Linked DNA regions of Homo sapiens: regions 2 and 3 are each linked to region 1. Evidence: promoter capture Hi-C in 16 types of primary human blood cells and fetal thymus (Javierre and others, 2016). All regions are on one chromosome and are shown on one strand. The core of a region is centred on a gene start or on the middle of the fragment in contact, and the rest is flanking DNA. Distances in the headings are between cores, read along the strand shown.

What was found. Contacts are between HindIII fragments. The CHiCAGO score rates a contact against its expected background, and 5 or more counts as called.
Region 2: a contact is called between a fragment that was not itself captured here and the fragment with the promoter of MRPS6 in region 1, in 5 of 17 cell types (total CD8 T cells, activated CD4 T cells, naive CD8 T cells and 2 more). The highest score is 6.3, in total CD8 T cells.
Region 3: a fragment that was not itself captured here is called in contact with the fragment with the promoter of MRPS6 in region 1 in 2 of 17 cell types (total CD8 T cells and activated CD4 T cells); the score reaches 5.7 in total CD8 T cells.

Annotation. Positions count from the first base shown.
Region 1 is chr21:34,070,677-34,075,549 of GRCh38, reverse strand. It overlaps MRPS6 (mitochondrial ribosomal protein S6), which reads right to left and starts at 1,972. Exons shown (of 3, transcript NM_032476.4): 1 at 1,805-1,972. The coding sequence starts at 1,849. It overlaps SLC5A3 (solute carrier family 5 member 3), which reads right to left and starts at 1,972. Exons shown (of 2, transcript NM_006933.7): 1 at 1,805-1,972. RefSeq lists silencers at 1,315-1,714, 2,005-2,524 and an enhancer at 1,111-2,061. The HindIII fragment of the contact is 10,607 bases long and covers 1,274-4,873 here.
Region 2 is chr21:33,969,112-33,973,984 of GRCh38, reverse strand. It overlaps LINC00649 (long intergenic non-protein coding RNA 649), which reads right to left. Exons shown (of 3, transcript NR_038883.2): 3 at 2,799-4,748. Among named protein-coding and RNA genes, the nearest start is that of LINC00649, 40 kb to the right of the region's middle. RefSeq lists a silencer at 1,923-2,217 and an enhancer at 1,616-2,305. The HindIII fragment of the contact is 2,511 bases long and covers 1,184-3,694 here.
Region 3 is chr21:33,987,778-33,992,650 of GRCh38, reverse strand. The region is part of intron 2 of LOC105372790 (a long non-coding RNA gene); the gene reads right to left. Among named protein-coding and RNA genes, the nearest start is that of LINC00649, 59 kb to the right of the region's middle. The HindIII fragment of the contact is 1,384 bases long and covers 2,932-4,315 here.

The DNA of each region.
Region 1 (4,873 bases), core at 723-3,222:
TTTTTGCCCCCCTTCCCTCATGCGAAGATTTCAAGGAAGGTTATTTATTATTTTAACCAAATTACGCTCTGTTGATCTGAACTAGAGTGAAAAATGGGTGCTCCACATCCAAAGGCTATGTTATTACAGGACATAAAAAAAAATGGTAAAAGAAATACACTTAATACTTGCAGCCATGTTAACCAAGATACTTGGCAACTATGGCAAAAACAAAGGGGAGGGCAAGTCTTCATTTCAAAGGTTTCAAAGGGTTACAGAATGAGCAAATATTATTGCCTACAGGTTGCCTCTTTCAGTGTCACCTGCTACCTCCCCAAGACAAGGAAAGTAAACAAAAGGAATTTCAGTAACGAATTTCCCAGGTTCCACATTCCCTAAAACACGTAAGTTGAAGGGAGGGCTTAAACAACTTCCACCTAATTAAAAATCTTCCCTTTTAATAATGCTTTGTTTTCACTGCTCCTATCCTTTCGGAGTTACATATGCTGGTAAGCAAGGAGGAGGGCCAAAAGGGATATTCAAGAGGCTGAACAGATACTATCTTAACTTCTTCCAAATCCATGAAGAACAAGCTGGGGGACACAATGGCATGCCTGGCCAGGCTGTCTGGACCTCATAGAGAGGCACTGGCGTCCCTTCCCAGTTAACAATATGCAAAGCACACTTCCTAACAATCTCCCGACGCTCCGTGATTGTTAGTTTATCAATTGAGCTTAAGTTCAACCAAACTTGGTAATACTCCTCGCAATTGACCTGGAGCCTAATTTCAAACGTAAAAATGCGTCCACTCCTCTAGCGCTGTAGGAAGCTGTGCTTACAAAGTTCGGACGTGGTACAATGATTTTTGTTTTATTACACCTGGTGGAGAAAAAAAAACATAACACCAAACTACGTTACCGAATTCCGAATTCACGGGAGAATGGGGATTTCGGCGACGACTTGAGGAGTACATGACCCAGGACAGAGGACGAAGTGAGCTGCCTCCGGGCCGCGGGCCCCTGTCCTTGGCCACGCCGTCACCTGAAAGGGGCCGCTGGTTCGCTTAGCATCCCTCCAAACCTGAAATCCCCTACCTCAAGATCAATCAAAAGCAGGGGGAAGAAAGTGTCTTCTGGAGGCGCAAGAAAGGCCACAACTTGGATGAATGAAACTGGGCTAAGGGCACCCGGAGCGGGATTTTCGCTGAAGTCAGAAAAAGAAAAGTCAAAAGATTTTTTTTTAACATGAGAGCGATTGCAAGAGACTGGAATACAGACAACGGCACAAACAAGCTTTGGAGGAACGCTTTATTGGGCGCGGACGTTCCGGGCGGCCGGCGGGCGCTAGAGCGGAGGCGGTCGGCGGCAGCCGGCGGGCGGCGGAGCGGGACGGACCAGGCGGCGGCGGCGGGGCCGGCGACGAGGCAGCTTCACGACTGGCGGGGACGGGCCGGAGTCGGGCTGGGCGCCCGCGCGTGTCCTCCCGCGGACCTTCCACTGGACTCCCGCGGGCCGGCGCCGGGATCGGGGTCGGGGCCCGCTCGGTCCGCCCCGCCCCCCGCCCGGCGGGCCGCTTGCGAGGCACACCCTCCCGGACCGCGCACACGCGCAGGCACACCCCCGCCTCCCGCGCGCACGCGGCCGGGCCCGGCCGGCCCACGCGCGCCCCCTTCCCGCGGACGCCCGCCGCCCGCCCGCCGCCCCGGCCTCCTCCGAGGAGTGCAGGAAGGCCCGGGGTCCCGCGGCCAGGGCGCGCGGGGGACGGCGGCCTAGCGGCAGCGGGGGCGCCCGCGCGGGAAGACCGGCTCTGAGGGAAGGTCACTTACCCGCTGCATGGCTTTCAGGATTAAAGCCAGCTCGTAGCGGGGCATGCCTGGAGGATCGGCGAGTGCGGCTCGGAAGCCAGCCGGTTCCCGGGACGCGAAGGGGCGGGACGGCGGGGACAGTGGGGACCTAGAAACTGCTGCGCCGGACGGCTCCCAGGCGGCGAAAGCACGGTCCGAGAGCGCGAGCCCGGGCTTAAAGGCGCTGGCAGCTGCGCAGACGCCGCGCCACGCCCCCTCGGCGCGCCCCGCCCCGCCCGCGCGCCTTGCCGCCGCCCCGCCCCCTCTCCGCCCGCGGGCGGCCGCCACGCCCCCTCCGCAGCCCCGCACCCGCCGCACCGCCCCCGCCCCGACCCCAGCCCAGCCCGCCGGCCGCGGCTAGGGGCGGTGCTGCAGACGCGGCCCAGAGCGGCTCGCGGCGGCCGCACGCCCCCTCGCGACCCTGCCTGCCCCTACCCCGCCTCCTGCCATGCCTGCTACCTAGCTCTCGAACCGGCTGGAACTTTCCATGCCTTCCTTCTCCTCCCGGGCGGCGGGCGAGTGAGTGCCCGCCAGTGCGCGTGCGCTGCGGTGCGGTCTCGTCCGTGCGCGTGCCCCTCGCCCGCGACTCCCCGGAGCTAGGGACCTTCGCGGCGCAAGGCGGGGTCGCGGCCGGCCCGGGGGCTGTGCGGCCAACGGCTGCTCGCAGGGGTTCTGGAACATTCCCGCCCGGGGTCGGTAGGGGGGTGCAGCTCTCGCCCCCAGCCACAACTCTCAGGTCTGACGCGGCTGACCAGGCCCCCTACCCGGCGAGGAGCGCGCTGGCACAGGCCGTGGGCCGCGGCGCGCGGGCTCGGGTCTGACTCAGTCCCTTGGCACTGCGTGACCTTGGGCCTGCTGCCTGTGCCGAAAGTGGGGACCCGAGTGAGTTACTGCACGTTAACCTCCGAGGACGGTGCCTGGTACACACAGGCGCGATACGGGCATTTGTGGTGTGCCCCTGACCTGCCCCCACGTGTTTCAGCGGAGGGCAGGCGAACACCTTAACTCTATCTCATTTCTTTAAATGTTTCCTCCGCTTTCACTTAAAGGCTAGGCTGAGTGCCTGGGAGACCCTTTAGCAACTGTCTAAGGTGGGCAGGGGCATACGTTCTGCCCTTGCCATCCCTTTACACCCACATGGTTCTCCGCCCTCCAGCCAGGGGCTCTGCAAGTGCAGTTTTCTCCAGCGCCCTTCCTTAGAGGTTGAGTACCCTGCAGCTGAGGCCTCTGCCCCTTGTTTGCCCCATTAAAAGCTCTGTACGTGGAGTGTTTGTCAACTTAAAGTGCTTTAACGTTAATAGGTAAAGTTTAGTGAACACTTACTCTGCATCAGGCCCCATGCCAAGGCTGGTGGATGTGTCTCCTAAAATTCTCACAACAGCCCTGAGGTGACAAAGATTCTTTGCTTGGCCAAACTTTAGTCAGGCTTCTGAATCTCATGCTAGGCCCATCTGTGCACTTCCTTGTAAAATCCAGTTCTAGCACAGAACCCCCATCCCCTCATAGCAGATCAGGTTCCTCATCTTCCTCTATCCCCCAGTCATGTCTTTTCACCCTGGCCTGAGTTCTACAAGAATCCTTTAGATCGGTTGAGCCAGAATCCCTCTTCCCCCGATGGTTACTCTTAGTGATTTTACATGGCCATAAATTTCTACTTGCCGACGCTGCATTCAGAATTGGAGCCCACTCTCTCTCCCCGGGTTTCCCTGATCCCTGTACCCATCGCGTTGGTCCTGAATAAAGTCTTTCTTACCATGCTTTAGTAAGCATCACTGAGTAATTTTTTTAAACAGAGGCAAGCACTGTTAACCCCATATTAGGGATTAGGAAATGTAGGCACAAAAAGTTTTGTAACTAGTCCAAGGTCATACAGTAATAGAAACAAAGTACTTTTAGCCGCCCCTCTACCCTTCTGACCTCCGGTTCTCCTACCACACAGATGAAGATGCTGATTGTTATTCAGTGGATTAACCGTGTAGTCCACGTAAGCCAAGATTAGAGTACCTTTGTCACCTTACCCAGAGGTTACCATTTCACATCCCATGCGTCTATTTGTGACATATGGGAGGTAGGAGATGGAGATGAACCCAAGTTTTTCTGAGATAGCTGGATTTTAACATTTTCTATTTTTAGACTTGTCTACAACCCATACCTGTGTGAAGCCACACAGGTAATCCAAATTGCCTGGCTAAGTGTCAATTAACTTCATGTTTGGTTTAAATAAGTAGCGTACTATAAATAACAGAAGGAAACAAGGAATTTCTGGACCTTCAGAAGTGAGTTACAGGCTGGGTGCAGTGGCCCACGCCCGTAATCCCAATACTTTGGGAGGCTGAGGCGGGTGGATCACCTAAGGTCAGGAGTTTGAGACCAGCCTGGGCAACATCGTGAAATCCTGTCTCTAATAAAAATACAAAAATCAGCTGGGTGCGGTGGCACTTGCCTGTAGTCCCGGCTACTCGGGAGGCTGAGGCAGAAGAATCGCTTGAACCCAGGAGGCGGAGGTTGCAGTGAGCCGAAATCGCGCCACTGCACTCCAGCCTGGACGACAGAGCGAGACTCCATTAAAAAAAAAAAAGTCAGTTACAGATTTTCTAGAATGGTCCCACCCCGACTGTCCCCTGTCTTGTCAATTACATGACCCAGTTTAGTAATGAGAAAATAAAGACCCCGTAGTAATATGCCAAGTCAAACACTGAGGCGGCGCAATGAGCTGACTTCAACTCAGAGCATTTCCTCTTGGAAGCTCTTTAGTTTTCCCTTAATGCCCAGGGATGAGTGAAGACCTGGCATCTTCTCTACTCCTTCTAACTTGACAAGTGGTATAAGGAAATTAACCTGACTGCGTAATACCTCACCACAGAGTCAGCATCCCCAAGCCCTCCCAGTCTGGTAGCCACCCACAGACTCATTCCATTTCTTAAAAGCAGAGAGAGGGCAGCTACTGTGATTTTCCCCCTTCAACCTTTTTTTAACAAGCACAGAAGCGGCCGGGTACGGTGGCTCACGCCTATGATCCCAGCACTTTGGGAGGCCAAGGCGGGCGGATCA
Region 2 (4,873 bases), core at 1,190-3,689, 100 kb after region 1:
GGTAAATTCAGCTAGAGGATAATAAAGTTATGCTTCTTGTGGTGCACAGACTACTGAAGGCAGGCTTTGCAGAGAGCTTGGAAACCTCCAGAGTTGCATCTTAGCCACCCTTTTGAGTTACTAGGGGAGTCAAAGAACATAAGCCCTCTTAAAGCACCTGAAAGGCAAGGAAAGCCATACAGATTTGAGGCAATGATCATACTTGAAATCACTCCCTTAAAGTGACTGAAAGAGTATCAGTTGGGCTCAAGCAATTAAACAATTGTCAAATGCATCAAGCATCTGTGATATGAATTCACAGGCACATCTGAGGAAGAGCCCAACAGTAATTCCTCATCTTGTGGCTGGACCTTGGGAGGACCCTTGGAATTCCCTGGGAGAGCTCTTATCTAGGACTGGCCCCCTCTCCTGCCAGGAGCCACCTTCAGAGACTGAGGGACTGTGAGTTCCTTCTCCCTAGCTCCTCCCTCGTAATTCCCAACATCTCTGACCACTGGCAGCTCTCCCCAGAGGCTGGAGGGCTACTGATGATTCCACGGAAGTGACTGCATGCACCGATCCTAACCCCCGATAACTCTAAGGATGCTAGGTAGGAATCTCCTTCCCAGGATCATAAAACTTGGTGGAGAGGAGGGGTTTGAAAAAGATTAATAACCTGCTAAGGACGTGACCAGACTGCCTTATTGAAAACAAGGGACTTGTGTGTGTCTTCTCTTCCCATTAACATCCCAACTGCCTGGTGAACAACCAGCTCGAGGAAAAGAAAAAGGAGATTTGCTGCTGTTGCTAGGACTAGGGCCCCAAATACATTAAGGCCCTTGATGGGGGAGTTAAGCCTGCCACCGTCCAGCGTTATGGGGTAAGCAAGCACTATCAGGTCTCTAAGTGGTAAACATAATTTTCCCACATGGGAGACACTAATCCACATCATGCTGAAAGCAAAGTTATAAAGTGCGGCTGTCCCACCCCACCCACCCCACCCCATCTCGGTCATGAGCATCCAGGTGCCTTTTCTTTTTAGAGACAGGGTGTCATTCTGTCACCCAGGCTGGAGTACAGTAGTGTGATCATAGCTCACTGCAGCCTCGAACTTCTGACTCAAGCCATCCTCCCACCTGCCTCCTGAGTAGCTGGAACCACAGGCACATCCCATCATGCTTGGCTCAGTTGCGTTTATGAAGCTTCTTCCACTCGGCTCTGAGCCTTGCTCCTGGAGTCATCCTTCGGCCAGGGCTGCTGGCACCTGAAGCCACTCTGGCCCCTGAACATCCCCCAGCCACACTAGTCCTGGCTCTCTTCTTCACGATGTCCATCAGGCAGAGACCAGCCAATGGGAGGTCAGACCCACCCTCCTCTGAACTCAGTGACATGTATGGGCTTTCATTATGTGCCTCTTCACAAATTTTATCTTTTTTCATTTTTGTGTCCCTTAGGATAGGAATTCCTAGCTCTACTTAATAGATGAGTGTGGGGCCGGGCATGGTGGCTCACGTCTGTAATCTCAGCACTTTGGGAGGCCAAGGTGGGGGAATCACCTGAGGTCAGGAGTTCAAGACCAGCCAGGCCAACATAGTGAAACCCCATCTCTACTAAAAGTACAAAAAGTAGCCGGGCGTGGTGGCAGGCGCCTGTAATTCCAGCTACTTGGGAGGTTGAGGCAGGAGAATTGCTTGAACTGGGGAGGCAGAAGTTGCAGTGAGCCGAGATCATGCCACTGCACTCCAGCCTGGGTGACAGAGCAAGACTCCATCCAAAAAAAAAAAAAAAAAAGATGAGTGTGGTAGGCAGAATAAAGTCCCCCAAAGACGTACACAGCCTGACCCCTGGGACCTGTGAATATTTCCCTCTGTGGCAAAAGAGACTTTGCAGAAGAGACCAAGTCAAAGATCTTGAGATAAAGATATTATTCTGGATTATCACAGCTTCTAAATGCAACCACAAGTGTTCTTATAAGAAGAAGGCAGAGGGAGATTTGACAGTAAAGAAGGCAATGAAACAAGGTGCTGTTCTGCTGGCTTTGAAGATGGGGGAAGAGGTCAACAATCAAGGAATGCAAGGAATGCAGCATTAGAAGCTGGCAAAGGCAAGGAAATGGGTTCTCCCAGAGCCTCCACGGGGATCTTGGTCCTACCAACATCTTGATTTTAGCCCAACGAAATTGATGTCAGACTCCTGACCTCCAGAACGCTAAGAGAATAAATGCATGTTGTTTTAAGTCCACACGTTTGTGGTGCTATATTACAGAGGCAATAGGAAAGTCATAAAATGAGTAAACAGAGACACGTAATGACTTGCTTCAAGTCACGCAGCAAGTCAGTGGAGCTGGAATTCACACTCTGGCTTTTGGATTCTAAGCCTCATATTCTTTCTGTTACACCATGCTGCTTCTGAGACTCTGCAGCAATTGAGAGTGTAATAATCGGGGAACAGATAAATTAGGTAATCAGTGTGTGTGTGTGTGTGTGTGTGTGTGTTAGCAGGATTAGACAATAGGGTACGAAAGAGAACATGTCATTGACTTGTACTTATCTCTCAAACTATCCAATGGAAAATTGAGAAACACCAAATACAAATTATAAAAAGGTATCATTAAGCTCAACATTTTGCCTCTGTTTTTCTGGTCACAGCGCAGTTGGTCTTCATATTGCAAAATAGTGATGATCTTGTTCTGTCCACGTGTTCACCTAAAGCACTGGTCTTACAGAAGGGTTTGAAAGAAAACAAATGGGCCAGGTGTGGTCGCTCACATCTGTAATTCCAGCAGTTTGGGAGGCCAAGGAGGGTAGATCACTTGAGATCAGGAGTTCAAGACCAGCCTGGCCAATATGGTGAAACCCTGCCTCTACTAAAAATACTAAAAATTAGCCGGGCATGATGGCACACGCCTGTAGTCCCAGCTACTCAGGAGGCTGAGACAGGAGAATTGCTTGAACCCGGGAGGTGGAGGTTGCAGTGAGCTGAGATGGCACCACTGCACTCCAGCCTGGGAGACAGAGTGAGACTCCATCTCTAAAAAAAAAATAGAAAATAAAAGATAAATAACTGTTCCTTGTGAGCCCTAACAAATAACAGAAAGTGTATAGAATAGATGCAAGCCGGGACTTGGGTCCTGAAGGCCAGAGTTCAATGTTTGCATTTCCTAAAGGAAATCTAGGGCAATCACATCTCTAACGGACAGCGGTCACTTTCGTGCCAGAGATAAGCCTTGAGCTCTTGCTCACTTGGTACATGTTGCATTTTCTCCTTCATTTTTAACTCCTCAGGAACCCCTAGAATGGTAAACTGGGAAGTCACCTCATTTAACTTAACAAGGAATCTGGGGCCCAGAGAGCTTAGGGGTGCCTCAGATGCTACTGGTTATGACCACGATCTGATGGGTCATCGTTACTTGAAGGGGTGAGCAGAGGCTTCGCTTAACTTCCTTAAGGCTCTCAATGGAAGAACCGCAAGTGTCTGTCCCCTTGTCATTTTCTGAAAAAGCAATTTATCATTAAGTCCTCCCTGTTGCTGAGCTATTCAATACTTTTTTACCTGTAAAAACTCCACTCTGGTTAGTTACTGCTTGGACATGATACCACAGCATTACCTGAGAGGTCACAACACATTTTATGTCTTTGGTCAGAAATAGAAAAACAGAAGCACAAGACCCCTAGCCAGAAGATGACAGCATGCCAGAGCTTAGTGTCACCAAGCTTTCCTTTCTATTTTTGGAAGCTTTAACTTATTAGGCAAACGTATCATCCAACAAACACTGGGAAATGTAAGTTGGAAAGGTCCCGCTAGTTGATTAAATTCCCTCATTCTCTTCCAAGGCTCTCCCCCAAAACTGAAAGCCCCGTATCAGCTCTCATAAGAATAATAGGAGGAAACAAGCATTTTCTAAGTCTTTGATCCTACTCCTGCCTAACCTCCTAATTCAATCTTCACCCCTGGTTTTAAAGCCACCAACACCTCTCCTGCTCCCAGAACTTTTCTCTAGCTGGGACCCTGTCTGCTGCTTTAATCAGAAGACGTAAGTAAAGAGCTGTCTGAAGCCCACTTTGGGGAGTCAATGTGGAATCAGGGTAGAAGATTCTTGATGCCCAGGTGGCCATCCTCCACCTAAACAGGATCCTGCCAACATCATTGTACTGCCCAGCTTGCTACAGCACAGTGACAAGATGTGCTGGTGATATCTTTCAGTGGAGATTGTACTTTGCACTGGACAAGTCCTCATAGATGCCGAACTCATGTCAGACAATAAAGCAGGACTTTAAATAGCATGGCAGAGGCAATCTAGAGCTATCATTAACTCTAATTCTCAGAATCAGAGGACTTTGCTTATTTTGTCAATAACATCTACCGGCAGAGAACACCCAGGCCAGGGAAGCAGTGGGACTCCCCACAGGGAAGAGGAGCCACTGCCTACTAAACATGCATGGTTTGTCTTCACAGTGGACAGTTTGGTGGCCGCAGACATCATCTTCTACAACCACATCTACATCCTTGCCTTTCTGTTTCAAGTTGTTCTCTTGAGAAACTGTTCAAATTTTCAGGAGCTGAAAATGTACTGCCTTAAATCCAACTCATGCCGAGATTTCCAGGTTTGCTTTGAGGAATCCACTGCACTGATGGTGACTTGTTTAAAATTCTTCAGCTCTTCTATTATGTCCAATTCAACAAATAGTTACTGAGTGATTGCCGTAGCCAGTCTCTGCTGAGCTGGGCGTCTTCAGGTTGTCTCGGACCTCATGGAGCTCCCAGTCTATCTGGGAAGACAAAGTTAAGAAATAATGAGCATTGCAAAGTGTATTATAAATAGCAAGGAGATGTTAGTCTAGAGGGCCAGCTGCTGCTGTTGCCACTGCAGCAAATTGAAGCCAGAAAGAGAACC
Region 3 (4,873 bases), core at 2,374-4,873, 85 kb after region 1:
AGAGGAAACCCCTTCTGCTTCATTCTCATTCTCTCTTGTCTGCCACCATGTAAGACGTGCCTTTTGCCTTCTGCCATGTGAAACTGTGAGTCCATTAAACCTCTTTTTCTTTATAAATTACCCAGTCTCAGGTATGTCTTTATCAGCAGCATAAAAACAGACTAATACAACAAGTGAGCCTCCAAGTCAGTACCTCAACCCCAGGTAAAGCATCCAAAGCCCCCTGTGGAACTTTAGAAACTACAGAGTTTGCACTTCCTCTCCACATCCCAGTAAACAGAAAACCCAGGAAAGGGGCGGGGAGGAAAGCGCTGGGAACGTGCAGTTTTCAACCTTTTGTTTAAGGGTTTCTGCTGCCACCAAGGCTGAGAACCAGAGCACCGAGGCAAGATTCAACAGACGTTTTGGAGCTCCAAGTTCACTAAATTGCAAGGTATAAAAAATTAAAACAGGAGCACAAGCATGCCCAGAAGTACATAAGAATTTGGCTTGTTCTTCTTTCCAGCCATCTCCCACGTCTTCCTCCTCCTCCCTCTGCCCACCTGGACATGGAATCCAGGTTCTCAGTTTGGAAAAGGGAATGAGGGAAGAGAAAATGAGAATGGAAGAGGCACAGCTAATGCCCTTCAAAGCCATCAGCACCTGCACCTTTCTGCTTCTCCCTCCTCCCCAGAGACTGGCAGTAAATGTCTATTTTTAAAAAGCAACAGCTATTAATAATTTCTCTACCAATTCAGGTAATGTTTAATCCCTTATTGTCAACCACAGTGGTTTGTGGACGAAGGACTTCTGGTTTATTATAGTCATTACTGCCTTACTGTCAGTTTTCCAAAAAAGTATTTTCATTTTATTTTTATTAGGGAAGTGCGGACTCTTTAATTCCTTGGCAAACCCAAACTCAATCAATATATTTATTGTACTAAGTCTTCTAAAACCCAACAAATTACCGTCCCTCCTGTTAAGGTCCTTAATTAGTTTGCTAATGAGTATTCCCTGTTTAAGGACATGATCCTGAACAAGCACACAGAAGTCATCAACCTCAAATGTAATTTTCATGGAGTTACCTCCTCAACCTGGCTGTGGCCCCCATCATGTCTCAAATTAAATTAAAATCACAATTCCCATAAAGGCTCTCCACCATCAGCCTTCCCCTGCCTGACAGCCTTCTTTTAGTGCTCCCTTCCCCCAATAGATGTCTTCTCATTCCTTTTGCCTAGAATCTTCTTCCGCTCTCTCTGCTACCTGGCAAGCTCTCAGCTGTCTCTAAAGGCTGGCAGTCAGCATCCTTTCTTTCCTTCTAGGAAGCTTTTCAAATCCTCTCTAGCAAGATTAGCATATTTTTCCTCTGAGCCTGCTTCTACCAGACCTCAGTCATCCTGTTCCATAAAGTCTGTGCCTCCATGCTCCAGACTTTGAACTTCTCAAATAAGACTTCGTCATCTCTGTATCCCCAGTGTCTTGCATAAAATCTGCCCAGGGAAGATGGCCCATAAATGCTGGATTAATTGAACGAATGTATAAAAGAAGCAAGCCTACCTACAGTCCTCTACACAATACTCACTCTCTCCTCCATCTTTCCCAATGTTCATCCTTTTTCCAGAGTAACCTGAAAACCACACACCTACCATGAGGGCAGGAGACTTATCTGTTCTGTTCCCTATTGTATCCCCAGTGCCTAGAACCCTGCCTGATGTATTGTAGGTGCTCAGTAGACATTTGTTGACCAAATGAATGAATTCTTCAAACTTATCGTTCAAAACCCACTTCCTCTACCCAGCTCTCACCATTCCCAGAGGACTGTCCTCCATCTACTCCCCTCCTCCTTTCTGAGGGAAAACTGCTTTCTGTAAATCTCTACTCATCACACCATCCTGTCTTTTTTTTTTCCTTTTTGATTTTTTTGAGACAGAGTCTCACTCTGTTGCCCAGGCTGGAGTGCAGTGGCACAATCTCAGCTCACTGCAACCTCCGCCTCCCAGGCTCAAGCAATTCTTGTGCCTCAGCCTCCCAAGTAGCTGGGACTACAGGCACGCACCACCATGCCTGGCTAATTTTTGTACTTTTAGTAGAGACAGGGTTTCACCATGTTGGCCAGGTTGGTCTCGAACTCTTGATCTTAAATGATCCACCTGCCTCGGTCTCCCAAAAAAATATATAAAACTTTGCGATTACAGGCATGAGCCACCACACCCAGCCTCAACCTGTCATTATCAAGAATTTTGGTGCAAATATACCAGTTTGGGATTACATAAATTCTTCCCAATTTGATACAATCCAGAAATCAACCATGTACCATGACTCATCTTTTTCCCTATGTGCAAAAAAAAAAAAAAAAAAAAAAAAAACTGTCCTGTAAACCTTATGGGCCTACTTAACAATCAGATTTAGGTAGCTATTCACGTAGGCATGAGAACAGAGTATCCCGCTGTGTTCAACATTGTGGTCGACAGAGAATTGCAAACTGCAATTAACATCACTCATCCATCCCTAAGTTTCCAAGAATGAGAACACGGTGAAATGTGCTTCATGGTAAAAATCTACTGAGTAGAATCTAAACTTTCTTTGACGGTTTCTGGATCTACATAGCCCCAGGATTACTCTGAACATCAATATCTTTTTATGAAAGTTATACAGAAGCATGTCAGTCAAGGAGCCTGTTTGCAAGAGTCCTGTGTGTGTTGACTGGGGTACCCACCCCACACACTCCAGGTTGCTCTGTGCTGCAGTGCCCACCCATTGAGGATTTCATGTAATAAACCTCAGCGACCCCTCCTAACTGGCCTATTTGCCGATAAAACCAGCTGCTGAACTACCCCTCCAACTCTCCTACTTGCAAACTCCATCTCCTCCAAATTCCAGTGGGAAAGACAATTGTTTTATTTTATCTTAGTCTTTTAATTATCTTCTTCTTCTATTTACTTTTCTGAAGCTTAGAGCTATAAAGGACTTTGGGCACACCCAACCAGACATTGCTATATAAGACTATATATTTTATAGATATATATACAATTAAAAGTTAGAGGGTCATTACACTATAGGATAAAACAGCAATAAAAACTTTATACTTAGAGCTTAGGTTAATCCTTTTAAAAGCACCTGCTCTTTGGCTGGGCGCAGTGTCTCACCCCTGTAATCCCAGCACTTTGGGAGGCCAAGGCAGGCGGATCACCTGAAGTCAGGGGTTTGAGACCAGCCTGGCCAATATGGCAAAACCCCATTTCTACTAAAAATAACAAAAATTAGCTAGGCATGGTGGCAGGAGCCTGTAATCCCAGCGACTCAGGAGGCTGAGGCAGGAGAATTGCTTGAACCCAGGAGGCGGAGGTTGCAGTGAGCCACTGCACTCCAACTTGGACAAGAGTGAAACTCCATCTCAAAAAAAAAAAAAAAAAAAAAAAGCACCTGCCTTTTGAGGACTGTATCAGGACTCAGGCCTCAAAAGCTGATTTGACCATCTGTGCTGGAGAGACATGTAAAAAATTAGAAGGTCAATCTAACCAGGCCTTACACATAGGCTTACAGTTCATGACCGAGGTATCATAACATGATGGGTACACCATGTTATGATTGCTATCACAATATTCCTAATAATAACATCTACTATAAGAATAATAAGGCTACCATTTTGTGAAATAGGCATTAGTATCCCAGTTTTGCTGACAAGAAAACTGAGGCTGGGACAGGCTGTATATCGCCAGGACTGAGAGATAATAAGTGAAGATTGCTGGTCCTCAGACCCATCTGTGTGATGCCAAATCTCATTCTCTTAACCACCCTGCTCATCCCAGCCCTGCCCTGTACATACACACACACCCTAACGTAGAGAATATTTGTAATTATCCTGGCTGCCCAGCATCTGAACTCCCTTCCTGGGTTCAGGGAATCCTCTATTTATGTATGAATCGTGTAGGAGGCAGGGCGTGGAACCTCCTAGTACAGAAGCTGAGCCCCTTCACTCCTGCCTTTTCCAGCCTCCCTTGCTGCCGGGGCTGCTAGGGCTCAAGCACATGACCTAGGTCCAGCCAATCAGATGCACCCTCCTGGATTCTAACTCAGGAGCTGGTGGGGGTTAGAAGGGGGCCCACAAGAAGCCCTTCTAGCAGCAGGGGCAGCCTGTTCTGTGTGCTTGTTCAGGATCATGGGGGCAATTTCTCATGGTTGAGCACATCCCCTCGGTGCTGTTCTCGTGACAGTGAGTGAGTTCTCGTGAGATCTACTTGTTTAAAAGTGTGTGGCACCTCCCCTGCACCTTCCTCCTGCTCCAGCCACGTGAAGTGCCTCACTCGCCCTTGGCCTTCCACCATGATTGGAAGCTTCCTGAAGCCTCTTCAGAAGCAGAAGCCACTATGCTTCCTGTACAGCCTGCAGAACTGTGAGCCAGTTCAACCTCTTTTCTTTATAAATTACCCAGTCTCGGGTATTTCTTTATAGCAGTGTGAGAACGAACTAATAAAAACATGTTCATGAAAAGACCTAAGGGAGAGCTGGTAAATGTGCCTTATGAATAGTCCTTAGCGGAATCAACCATCCCAAACATTCCAAAGACGATCCTAGTCTTTCTTGGTTTCAGATGCAATGCGCAAATCCTCTCATCCAAGCTGGGACAGTCAACACCACCTTTTCCCCAGAAAAATCAGCCATTAGAGAACCACAGACTCCCCGCTTCCCAGGAACTCCAGTGATCTTGGGCTGCACCCACCCTGTCCCCTCCCCTATGCCCTTGCCAATCCAGCAGCCTCTGCAGAGGGTTTCTCTGCAAGGACATCAGATGCGCGTCCTCTCTAAAGAAGCTGCCTCCACCCAGAGGCTGAGTCAGGTTGGGAAATGAGAACTGAGTTTGCATCCAGAAGAACTGTGTTCAGTCTCCCTCAGA